Linked DNA regions of Homo sapiens: all the other regions are linked to region 3. The links are contacts of gene promoters, found by promoter capture Hi-C in blood cells and fetal thymus (Javierre and others, 2016). All regions are on one chromosome and are shown on one strand. The core of a region is centred on a gene start or on the middle of the fragment in contact, and the rest is flanking DNA. Distances in the headings are between cores, read along the strand shown.

The links. The method cuts DNA at HindIII sites, captures the fragments that hold promoters and counts their contacts. A CHiCAGO score of 5 or more calls a contact.
Region 1: a fragment that was not itself captured here is called in contact with the fragment with the promoter of SLC17A7 in region 3 in 3 of 17 cell types (endothelial precursors, naive B cells and total B cells); the score reaches 6.3 in endothelial precursors.
Region 2: a fragment that was not itself captured here is called in contact with the fragment with the promoter of SLC17A7 in region 3 in 3 of 17 cell types (naive B cells, total B cells and endothelial precursors); the score reaches 11.4 in naive B cells.

The regions. Positions count from the first base shown.
Region 1 is chr19:49,367,162-49,371,210 of GRCh38, reverse strand. All of the region lies in intron 4 of DKKL1 (dickkopf like acrosomal protein 1), which reads right to left. LOC101928295 (a long non-coding RNA gene) reads left to right here. Exons shown (of 3, transcript NR_110729.1): 3 at 68-2,506. Among named protein-coding and RNA genes, the nearest start is that of DKKL1, 5.3 kb to the right of the region's middle. The HindIII fragment of the contact is 4,505 bases long and covers 172-4,049 here.
Region 2 is chr19:49,313,965-49,317,459 of GRCh38, reverse strand. All of the region lies in intron 1 of SLC6A16 (solute carrier family 6 member 16), which reads left to right. Among named protein-coding and RNA genes, the nearest start is that of MIR4324, 6.8 kb to the right of the region's middle. The HindIII fragment of the contact is 290 bases long and covers 1,590-1,879 here.
Region 3 is chr19:49,439,413-49,443,257 of GRCh38, reverse strand. SLC17A7 (solute carrier family 17 member 7) reads left to right here and starts at 1,731. Exons shown (of 12, transcript NM_020309.4): 1 at 1,731-1,940. The coding sequence starts at 1,879. The HindIII fragment of the contact is 19,375 bases long and covers 1-3,845 here.

The DNA.
Region 1 (4,049 bases), core at 1,175-3,674, 73 kb after region 3:
AGGTCAGGCTCTTCAGCATCCTCATCCTCCTTGAACTCACTGGGTTACATTTCTTCTGCCTTTTCAGGCTTTGTCTCTATTGTTTTTTCTGCAGGTGCTGGGAGAGTACTTGTTGGCATATGCTGATGGTCATCTGCATGATTGGACTCTTCCATATCTGCTCCAGAAGCTTGAGTGTCTCCACTACAGGAAGAGTCTTTGTCATTACTGGTTTTAGAAAAGCTGTCCTCAGAGCCACCATTTTTCTTGATGCCTTTCACGGTGACAACGGCCAGCACTTGCCCTGAGGACATCTCTTCAGGAAGCTCTGCTACAAGAATGGCGAAGCAATCTTTTTTCTTGGCATCTCATTTTGCCCTGTGAAGAGATAGGGCTGCTTCTGGGGACTTTTCACTGATCACCATCCCCGCCAGGTCATCCTTGAAATCATTTACCTGGACTCCCTAGGGTGCCTTCACATTACATGGGGCCTCCTTTTCCTTGATGTTGTTGGCAAATTCTTTCACTGGATTATCTATGGGAACTTTTTCCTTGGCACATTTGTCGGCATTCAGATCCAGTGGAGCATCCTCATGTGAGCTTTCGTTGGTGAGGTCTTCCACCAGGGTATCCTCCATGGGAACTTTTTCCTTGGCTCATTTGTCAGCCTTTAAATTTAGCAAAACATCCCCATCTGAGCTTTTGTTGGCAAGGTCTTCCACCAGGGTATCCTCCGTGGGAACTTTTCCTTGGTGAATTCATCAGCCTTCAATCCAGTAGAGCGTCCTCATCTGAGCTTTCATTGGCAAGGTCTTTCACCAGGGTATCCTCTGTGGGAACTTTTTCTTTCATGCGTTTGTCAACCTTCAAGTCCAGTGAGGCATCCTTATCTGAGCTTTCGTTTCCAAGGTCTTCCACCAGGGTATCCTCCATGGGAACTTTTTCCTTGGCACGTTCTTTGGCCTTCAAATCCAGTGGGGTGTCCTAATCTGAAATTTCATTGGCGAGGTCTTCCAGAGGATCCTCCATGGCACCTTTTTCCTTGGCACATTCATTGGCCTTCCAAAGCCATGGGGCATTTTCATCTGAGCTTTCACTGGCTTGGTATCCTTCCAGGATATCTTCCATGTGAACACTTGCCTGAGTTGCTGAGTCTGTCAAGTGAACAGCAAGAACCTGTTCAGAGGAAGTGTCGCTGGTCTGCTCCCCTGCCAGGTTGTCCTTGAAATCTTCAGATGGCTACCTGCCAGGGTGCACATGAGGATGACACCTGCGGTGGCACATTCTCTCTCTAAAACTGCGCTGGCAGACCATGGATTCGCCATGGACAGTGGAGTCTCCTGAAACCTGAGTATCCACTGCTGCATCTTGGAGGCAATACTCTAGCCTTCACGAGCACCCTTCTACTCCAGTCAGGCTGAAGTCTCCCTCGCTGTCACCGCCACAACTGTAGGAGGTGAGCCACAGAGCCGTGCCATCTGCAAGCTCCAAACTCCACCTCACCACAGGTGACTCCTCCTTCACTTTCTCCTCCAGCCTTTCTCAGAGTGGCTGGGCGGGCAAAGCCAGAAAAGCCACTCTGGCCACACTGCAGCCTCTGTTGCCACCACCAACTGCAGTGAGGCAAGCCATGGTGCCACAGGCTCCAACCTCCAGCATGTGGCAGGTGATTCCCCTTCCCCTTCTCCTGGTTCTCTAAGCCAGGAACAGAGTAGCTCGGTGGGCAGATACAGAAGAGCCTAAAATCTGTTGTACTATTTTAAGAAAAACTTCTCTTGCCTGTAATCCCAGCACTTTGGGAGGCCGAGGTGGGTGGATCACCCAAAGTCAGGAATTCAAGACCAGCCTGGCCAACATAGCAAAACCTCATCGCTACTAAAAATACAAAAAACAAAAAACAAACAAAAAAAAATTAGCTGGATATTGTAGTGCGTGCCTGTTATCCCTGCTCTTTGGGAGGCTGAGGCAGGAGAATCACTTGAACCTGTGTTAGAATCAAAATGCTTGTTTCTTGGTGTCGCAAGGAAAAATTAGCATTCAGACAAAAAGTTTTCTCAGCAAGGCAATTTTACTTTCTGTAGAAAGGGTGCTGCCCATCAGCAATCCTGCCAGGAGAGCACAATGAACAAAGAAAGGCAGGAATATTTATCCCTTATGCATTGGGTCCTTACTGCTGTGTCCTGTCTCCATTGGTTGGAGCTGGACCTCACAGTCTAAGCTAAACCCAATTGGCTAACAACTTAAAAAACTTTCTTAAATAGGTAAAGGCAATGGAGAACAAAGGAAAAGAGGAAGTTGCTTGCCAAAAGACTTGGAGAAGTAATAACATTTCCAAATAAGGAAAGGGCATAAGCTGTGAGCTGGGACATGCTTGAGCACGTCGAGACCAAATATCTTGGTTAACGTACAAGGACACAGAAGGTACTTATTTCCTTATATCTAACAACTACATAAGATATGGTTTAAAAAAGAGTTACTAACACAAAGCAAAGAGGCTTAAAAAAAGTTAATTAAAAATATTATTTCTAACACTTGTGATTTATTATTTAATAAAAACTTTAAAGAGAAACTTTTTTACTTTCCACAACCTAGAAGGTGGAGGTTGCTGTGAGCCAAGATGGCACCACTACACTCCAGTCTGGGTGACAGAGGGAGACTCCATTTCCAAAATAATAAAGTATGTTTTTTAAAAAAAACTTTTCTGTAGTCTTGAAATTTTATTTATTTATTTATTTATTTATTTTTTGAGACAGAGTCTCACTCTGTTGCCCAGGCTAGAGTGCAGTGGCATGATCTGGGCCCACTTTAGACTCAACCTCCTCGTCTCAAACAATCCTCCCACCTCAGGCTTCTGGGTAGCTGGAACCACAGCACACACCACCACACCTGGCTACTTTTTTGATTTTTTTTTTTTTTTTGGAGACAGAGTCTCACTCTGTCCCCCAGGCTGGAGTGCAGTGACATGATCTTGGCTCACTGCAACCTCTGCCTCCCGGGTTCAAACAATTCTTTTACCTCAGCCTCCAGAGTAGCTGGGACTACAGGTGCAGGCTGCCATGCCCGGCTAATTTTTCGTATTTTAGTAGAGACAGGGTTTCACCGTGTTGCCCAGGCTGGTCTCGAACTCCTGAGCTCAGGCAATCTGCCTGCCTTGGCCTCCCAAATTGCTAGGATTACAGGCGTAAGCCAGCATGCCTGGCCTACTTTTTAAATTTTTTTGTAGAGATGAAGACTCCCTCTATTGCCCAGGGTGATCTCAAACTCGTGGGCTCAAGTCATCCTCCTGCCTCAGCCTCCCAAATTGCTAGGATTATAGGTGTAAGCCACTGTGCCTGTCCTGAAATTTTTAAAATAAAATTTTAAATAAACATTTTTAAAATGAAGATATTGCATGGGTGTACGTGGGTATCATATGGATGTATCAAGCTCTTTGGGTTTCTTAAAACTTTTCAGGATTAAAAATACCCTGATTTTGCAAAGCACTTCATAATTAGAATCACTTGTAGAAGTTTACCAAAGGTGGCCTGGCCAGGCATGGTGGCTCACGCCTATAATCCCAGCACCTTGGGAGGCCAAGGCAGTTGGATCACCTGAGGTCAGGAGTTCAAGAGCAGTCTGGCCAACATGATGAAACCTTGTCTCTCTAAAAATAGAAAAATTAGTCAGGTGTGGTGGCAGTCACCTGTAATCCCAGCTACACAGGAGGCTGAGGCAGGAGAATCACTTGAACCTGGGAGATGGAGGTTGCAGTGAGCTGAGATCGCACCATTGCACTCCAGCCTGGGGGACGAGCGAGACTTCGTCTCCAAAAAAAAAAAAAAAAAAGTTTACCAAAGGTGAAATACACAACGCATTTAGCATTCATACAGCTCTTTGGTATTAAAAATCACATTTTGGGCCAGGCGCAGTAGCTCATGCCTATAATCCCAGCACTTTGGGAGGCCGAGGCAGGTGGATCAGCTGAGGTCAGGAGTTCGAGACCAGCCTGGCCAACATGGCCAACATGGCGAAACCCTGTCTACACTAAAAATTCAAAAATTAGCTGGACGTGGTGGCACGTACTTGTAGTC
Region 2 (3,495 bases), core at 485-2,984, 130 kb after region 3:
AAAGTGGAAATTTCTTCTCCCCATTTTTATCTGGATCCTGTATATCCTTCATTTCTATGTTTTCTTAAAATTATCTTTTAATTAATTAATTTTATTTTATTATTATTGTTATTATTTTTGAGATAGGGTCTTACTCTGTTGCCCAAGCTGGAGTGCAGTGGTGCAATCTTGGCTCACTGCAACCTCCCCCTCCTGGATTCAAGTAATTATCTCACCTCAGCCTTCCGAGTAGCTGGGGCTACAGGTGTGTCCCACCATGCCTGGCTAATTTTTGTATTTTTTGGTAGAGATGGGGTTTCACCATATTGGCCAGGCTTGTCTTAAACTCCTGACTTCAAGTGATCCTCCTGCCTTGGCTTCTCAAAGTGCTGGGATTACGGGCATGAACCACTGCACCTGGCCTATTTTATTTTATTTTTTTAGAGAATGAGGTCCCACTCTGTTGCTCAGGCTGGAGTTCAGTGGTGTGATCATAGCCCACTGCAACCTTGAACTCCTGGGCTCAAGCGATCCTCTCCACTTAGCCTCCCAAATAGCTGGGACCACTGGCGTGTCCCACTATGCCTGGCTAATTTTAATTTTAATTTTTTTTTTTTTTTTTTGGTAGAGATGGGTTTTCACTGCATTGTCAAGGCTTATCTTGAATTCCTGGCCTCAAGTGATCCTCCTGCCTTGGCCTCCCAAAGTACTAGGATTACAGGCATGAGCCACTGTGTCTGGCCTATCCTTCATCATTCTTGTTCTTGTATTGCTCAATTTGGCTTTACTCACAGGAATTTCTCCTCATTGTGGCCTCTGGGTTGGAAAAGATCCCTGGTTGGTTAATTTTAAGAGTTCATAGAATCTAGTCTGCCCTGGTCCCTTCAGTTTCTATTGTTGACTCCATGCACTCAACTGTTATTGGATTAGGCAAGACATCTTCTAGTTTTAGCTGCTGTTCTCTAATAGCCTTCCCATGATTTCTGGTGAGTACCTGTTGATTATTTTGAGAGACTGGTTTCCCTGTCCCCCATCCCCAGGTCTGTCAGATGCTCTCTTGCTTCCTTTGTTTCCTCCCACACAGATGCTGATTCTATACAGGTCTGTGGCTCTTGTGGTTTGTTCTCATAGACTTGTCTTTTGGGGTTTATCTTGATATTGTAAATATTATCCATGGATTTTGGGCTTGCAATCTAGTAGAACTACTTGTTTTCATGTGAGTATTTGGGAAGATTTTAAAACAATGTTGCTGTTATTGCCATTACCTTCCCAGGATTTTACTCTATATTTAAAAAATTATTTTATAAGTGGCATTATTATTTTAAAATTTTATTTTCTAATTATGTATTGCAAGCATAGACATATAAATAATTTTCATTTATTGCTGTTTGCATCCAACAATCTTGCTAAATTATCTTATTAATTTAAATAATTTATCTGTAGTATTCTGGATCTTCCACATAGATATATCATCTGTGAATAGTGAGTTTTGTTTAATCTTTGTCTTTTATTCCCCTTGCTTTCCTGTGTTGTCTAAAATATTTAATGCAATGGGAAGGAAGTGCTGATAGCTGGTTTCATTGATTGTTCTTGATTTCAAAAGGCAAGCTTTCTTCACTTCATTATTAAATATGTGCCTATGTTTAAGCATATGTTCACTATTAAGTATAATCTTTTTTTTTTGAGAGACACCATTTATCAGGTTAGGGAAATTATTCCTGGTTTGCTAAAAGTTTTTCTCCGTAAATCATCATTGTATTGTATGTTTTTCCTATATCTCTTGAGATGATAATATTTTTCTTCTTTATTATATCAATGTGACTAATTATATTGATTTTCTCTAGTGGTATGCTTTGAATCATCTCTACTGAGTTTTTTGCTTTGTAGTTACCACGAAGCTTACATAAAACATCTCCTGCCTCAGCCTCCCAAAGGGCTGGGATTACAGGCATGAGCCACCATGACCAGCCCCAAAGGCTGGATTTTTGTACCTAATTTTTTCTTCAGCCTTTTCTTCCCTGCATGATTTTCTGCTTCTCTCTTAATGTTATGGAAGCATCATTTGTCTCAGGGAGACGCCCATCAACCCACCAATAACTCCAATAAATCCAATAACAGAGGAGTGGCCCACCTGCTGTTGCATTCTCTGGCATACAGCTTCTGGAAGCTGTTGGTTCACTGGAGCAGAAGGTCTTTGGCAAGTGATTGTTTTTATTTCCCACAAGTTGCTGGGAAAGTATTTACTTACTTCCTGAAACACTGAACCACTTCATCAGGAAAAAGAGATGTGAACTGACTCCTCAGTGATTACAGTTTGGTCCTGTTTCTTGTTTATGTAGCAGAAGTTTCTCTGTTTTTGACATGAGGATGGAACCTATTTTTCAGAAATGATGCAGATATCCCCATATTTGTAATATTTTAAAATCATTGGTTTTTTTTTTTGTTGGGTAGGGGGAGATTGTGGGTAAGTTTGGAGATTGGTGTTCATGTGGCTATCTTAGAAGAAACTTCCTTTTGTTTTGATGGTGAATTGTAGGAGTGGCAGGTGCTTGGAAGTTTAAAAAATTTAACAAAATTTTGACATAATTTCAGACTTACAACACTTCCATCTTTCCTTGTCTTTATTGACTGTGACATTTTTACTGAGCACAGGCCAGCTATTTTACAGAATGTACTTCAATTTAGATTTGTTTTCTGGTGTTTCCTCACGATTGGAGTTTTGTTACATGTTTTTGGCAGGAATCCCACAGAAATGATGTTGTGCTCTTAATGCATTGTATCAGGAGTTATATGATATCAGGTGACTATTATTGGTTTAGGTAGTGTGTAATACTCTAAAGATACTAGTTTCTTGGGTTTTTTTGGGGGGAATATCTTGTGGGGAGATACAGTAATACTATGCAATTATCCTGTCCCCATCAAATTTTCATCATCTTGTTTTAGCAACCATTGATGATTCTTGCTTGTGTCAGTTATTACTCTGGTAATTTCCAAACAATGATTTGTTAAAAAGACATATTTATTGAGGGATGATTGACAAGTAAAAAACTGTACATATTTCATGTGTACAACTTGATTAGTTTATGATAAGCAGTGACCTTCTAATTCATCGTTCCTTGTACATTTATTAGTTTGTATTCTACTATAAGGAAGAGGTTTTCCTTTTCCTGAGTTGTATCCCTGTGGATTCATGGATTCTTGTTTTAGTCTGTTGGTTCTCATCTGTTACTATTCTTTATTTTGATGTTCTGATTTGTCCAGATTTCGCTGATGAGAGCTTCTTCAATTGGATTTCTTTGTCCATTATGATCTTTTTATTTTCACTTATCAATACATATTTTTTCTTGATTATGATTATGATTATGATTATGATTTTTTTTTTTTTGAGACGGAGTCTCACTCTGTTGCCCAGGCTGGAGTGTAGTGGCGTGATCTCAGCTCACTGCAAACTCCGCTTCCCAGGTTCACGCCATTCTCCTGCTTCAGCCTCCTGAGTAGCTGGGACTACAGGCGCCC
Region 3 (3,845 bases), core at 482-2,981:
AAAGGATCACCCTCCTGGGGCCTGGATCTGGAGGTGGACTCAGCGCCGGGAGATGGGCTGGTCTGAGGACAGGAGCGGGGCGGGACCCTGTCTGCGGGCCCAGGACAGGGAAGGGCCGGGCTCTACCCAACGGGGCGGCGCTGGAATTCCGGCGTGGAGACAGAGTTCGGTGGGCGGGGACAGATTCCGGGGGTGGGAGCAGGACTGGGAGGGCAGGGACAGATCCCAGAGGCGGAGGCGGTGGGCGGGGGACAGATCCCATGGGGCAGGGGCAAGACTGGGAGGGCGGGGACAGATCTCAGGGGCGGAGGCCAGAGCTCGGTGGGCGGGGTCAGATTCCGGGGGCGGAGGCAGGACTGGGAGGTCGAGGACAGATCCCAGTGGCGAGGGTCAGAAGTCGGAGGGCGGGGACAGATCCCATGGGGCCGGGGCAAGACTGGGAGGGTAGGGAGAGATCCAGGGGGCGGGGAGAACTGGGTGGGCGGGGACAGATCCCATGGGGCAGGGGTAGAACACAGAGGGCGGGGACAGATCCCAGGGACGGAGGCCAGAACTCGGTGGGTGGGGACAGATTCCAGGGGGCAGAGATAGATCCTGTGGGGAAGGGGTAGAACTCAGATGGCAGGAACAGATTCCAGGGGGCAAGGACAGAACTGAGAGGGCGGGAACAGAGCCAGGGACAGATCCTAGGAGAAGGGGACACAACTCCAACGGTGGGGAGAGAACTCAGAGGGCGGGGGCAGAACTCAGGTCAGCGACAGATCCTAGGGGAGGAGACAAATTCAGAGGGCGGGTGAGGATGCCAGGGGGTGCGGATCACAATTTAGGGGGCGGGACAGATCTCAGGGGGTGGAGACAGAACTCAAATAGAGGAATGGATCCCCCGGAGCTAGGGAAGAACTCAGAGCGCGGACAGATCCCAGAGGAGCAGAGAAATAACACAATGGGGAGACTATGGGGTCGCAGCTGGCACTGGCGGGGTGTGTGAAATATAACTGTGGGGGGCGGAAGCCAGAGGGAAGAAAATCGGGGTTAGGGAATGAAACTCAGGGAGAGAAGCAACAGGGAGGAGAGAGACGCCGGAGGGAGAATAGAGCTGGAGGAGTATGGGATTCAAAGGGGAAAGATGGAAACTAAGGAGGAGATGGAGCTCAAGGGTGAAGAACCCGGGTGGCGAAAGGGACTAGAGGGGGACGACAGGTGGATCGAAGTAGGCGTTGGACTTGAGGGGAAAGAATTTCCCTTGAATGAGAAAACAAAGAACTCCCTGGATGAGACTATTGGAACTGGGGACGAGGTGGGATGGGGATGGAATTGCGGGGTGGGGGCGGGGAGGAGTGAAGGAACTGGAGGATGAACGCAGAGGGAAAGTCAGAGAAGACAGGATTGTAAGGGACGCAATTAGGGGGAACAGAAGTCGGGGAGAGAAATGATGGGGATGAGAACTCAGGAGAGGAGAGAAAATCTGGGTAGGAGCCAGGGGTGATGGAACAGGGATAGGGGGAGTAGCCTGGGGAAGGAACAGAATTGGGGGGCGTGAACTCGGAGGCGTGAGTTCAGAACCCACAGGCGTGGTCTTGGAAGGCTCAGGAGGGGACAGGACGAGGATGAAAGGGCTGCGAGAGGGGGCGGGTCTGACAGACGAGGGGAGGGGCCTGGTGGGGCCGGGGCGGGGCCTCCCGCGCCCCGCCCCCGGCGCTGAGTCCTGTGACAGCCCCCGGGCCGCCTGCACTTGCAGCCTCCTTCCCCCCGAGCGGAGCTGCGGGGCCGGCCGGGCCGGGGCTGGACCCCGGGAACCCGGACGCGGCCGCCCGGGCCCGCGGGCGGGGGGATCGGCGGGGGGGACCCGCGGGGTGACCGGCGGCAGGAGCCGCCACCATGGAGTTCCGCCAGGAGGAGTTTCGGAAGCTAGCGGGTCGTGCTCTCGGGAAGCTGCACCGGTGAGCCTGGCGGGGGTCCCGGGAGAAGAGTGGGAGGATCTGAGGAGGATGCTAATTCCCACCTGGGCGCAGACTGACAGATGAACGGGCGATACCCCGGCATGGGGGTCCACCCATCTGTCCAGTTTTCTGCCGTGGGCTCCGACGGCGCTGTTCTCCCTGGTCGAGCCTTGTCCATTATCCTGTTCCTTTTTCTGCACCCCACCCCACCCGGCTCCACTCTCTCTGGTGCTGTAAATGCCTCTCTCCCGGGTCTCTGGCTCCTCCCCCACCACTTCTGGGTCTCTGTCCCCGTCTCTTTCTGGATGTCTCTGCCCCTTTTCTCTCTGGGTCTCCGTCTCCCTCTTTTTCCAGATCTCGGCTCCCTTCTCTCTGGGCCCCTCCTTCTCCCTAGATCTCTGCCTCCGCTTCTTTGCGTCTCTGTGCCCCTCTCTCTGGTTCTCTGGCCATTGCTCTCACTGGATCTCTATCAACTCCTGACTCAGAGTCTCTGTCCCCCTCTTTCTGGGTCTCTCCTCTTCCCTGGATCTCTGGTCCCCACTTCTCTGGGTCCCTGTCCCCGTCTCTGTGTTTTAATTCTCCCACCATGGGTCTCTCCGTCTCTCTGTGTCTTTTTCCGTTTCTGTCTGGCATGGAGTTTAATCTGCAGCTAAAGCGGATTGGGGCTCATAGCCCGTTGTCCTTGAGGGGGTGAGGCTGGGTGGAAGAAGTCACAGCACCCTGGGTCCCTGGGAGAGAAAGGAGTTAGAGGCCAAAAATTTCGGCTCCTGGGGTAGGACAGCCTTCCCAAAGGATACAGGCTGGGGCTGACAGGGACTCCCTCCCAACCAGGTTGATGACCCCAGTGAACCGAGTGTCCCTCAGGATAATCTGGACACCTCCCCACAGGCTCTCACCCCCAACCCCAGCTTTGGCTCTAAGTCAGATAAATTACTCAGCTGCGGAAAAGCCTAAAAATATATCTGGCCACAGTGCACGAAGGAGATGGCCTCATCAGCACCATGCCCCTGCCGCCGTGCCCTCAGGCCCTGTCCCCTTGGCCCACAGCCCTGACCCTGTGTTTCGCTGAGCTTCAGTCCACCTCGCTAGGCCATGGGGGTCCTTTGCTAAGTCTAACATCAGTCTTGCTTGCTGCAGATCACCTCTTAGCTCCAAAGTTACCCCACCCTCTAGTAACATGAGAGACAAGAATAAGGCTGGACAGAAGTGGGGGGAGGTGGGCAGGAGGATGGTGCAGTGACGGAGGTTGGTGGTGGAGGGGAAGCTGAGATAACCTCACCCCTTCTTTTTCCAATTTTCCAGCCCCTCCCCACCCTTTTTCTCGCCTCCTTTCACGAGTTTCTCAAAATACATCAGTGTGAAGTCAGGAGAATGAGAGAGAGAGAAAGAGACGTGCTGGTGGAGGGGGCTGGGGGGTGGCAGCGGGAGGGATGTATTCCTCAGGCCCCTCCCTCAGTCTCTGCCTCTGTTTCTCATCTGTGCTAGGGTTTCTCACAGTCAATCTCTCTGGCTCTCACTCTCTGAGTTACCTCTTGGGTCCCCAGAGACCCCCGGGCTCTGGCCAGGACCATCAGCAGGGAGTTTGTGCAGAGAAAAGCATTTGCTTCCAATGCCTGGGGTTTGCTCTGATGGTTGGAGGGAGAGGGGAATACCCCATATTAGAGACAACAGGTTGATCTCATTTAATCCTCTAGACAAAGATGGGGAAACTGAGGCTCCATTCTGGGGTTGGGGAGATCAGTGGATGAGTATGAGCCCCATGATTTGAACCCAGGTCAGTCTCCCTCCCAAGCCTAGAACAGAGCTCTTCCTTGAGAAGAGTGATGCCACAGCTGGTGGGGAGCTTCCTTGCACCCAGGGTGACTTGGAACAAGGACATGGGGGAATGGGATGCCAGAGAGATGA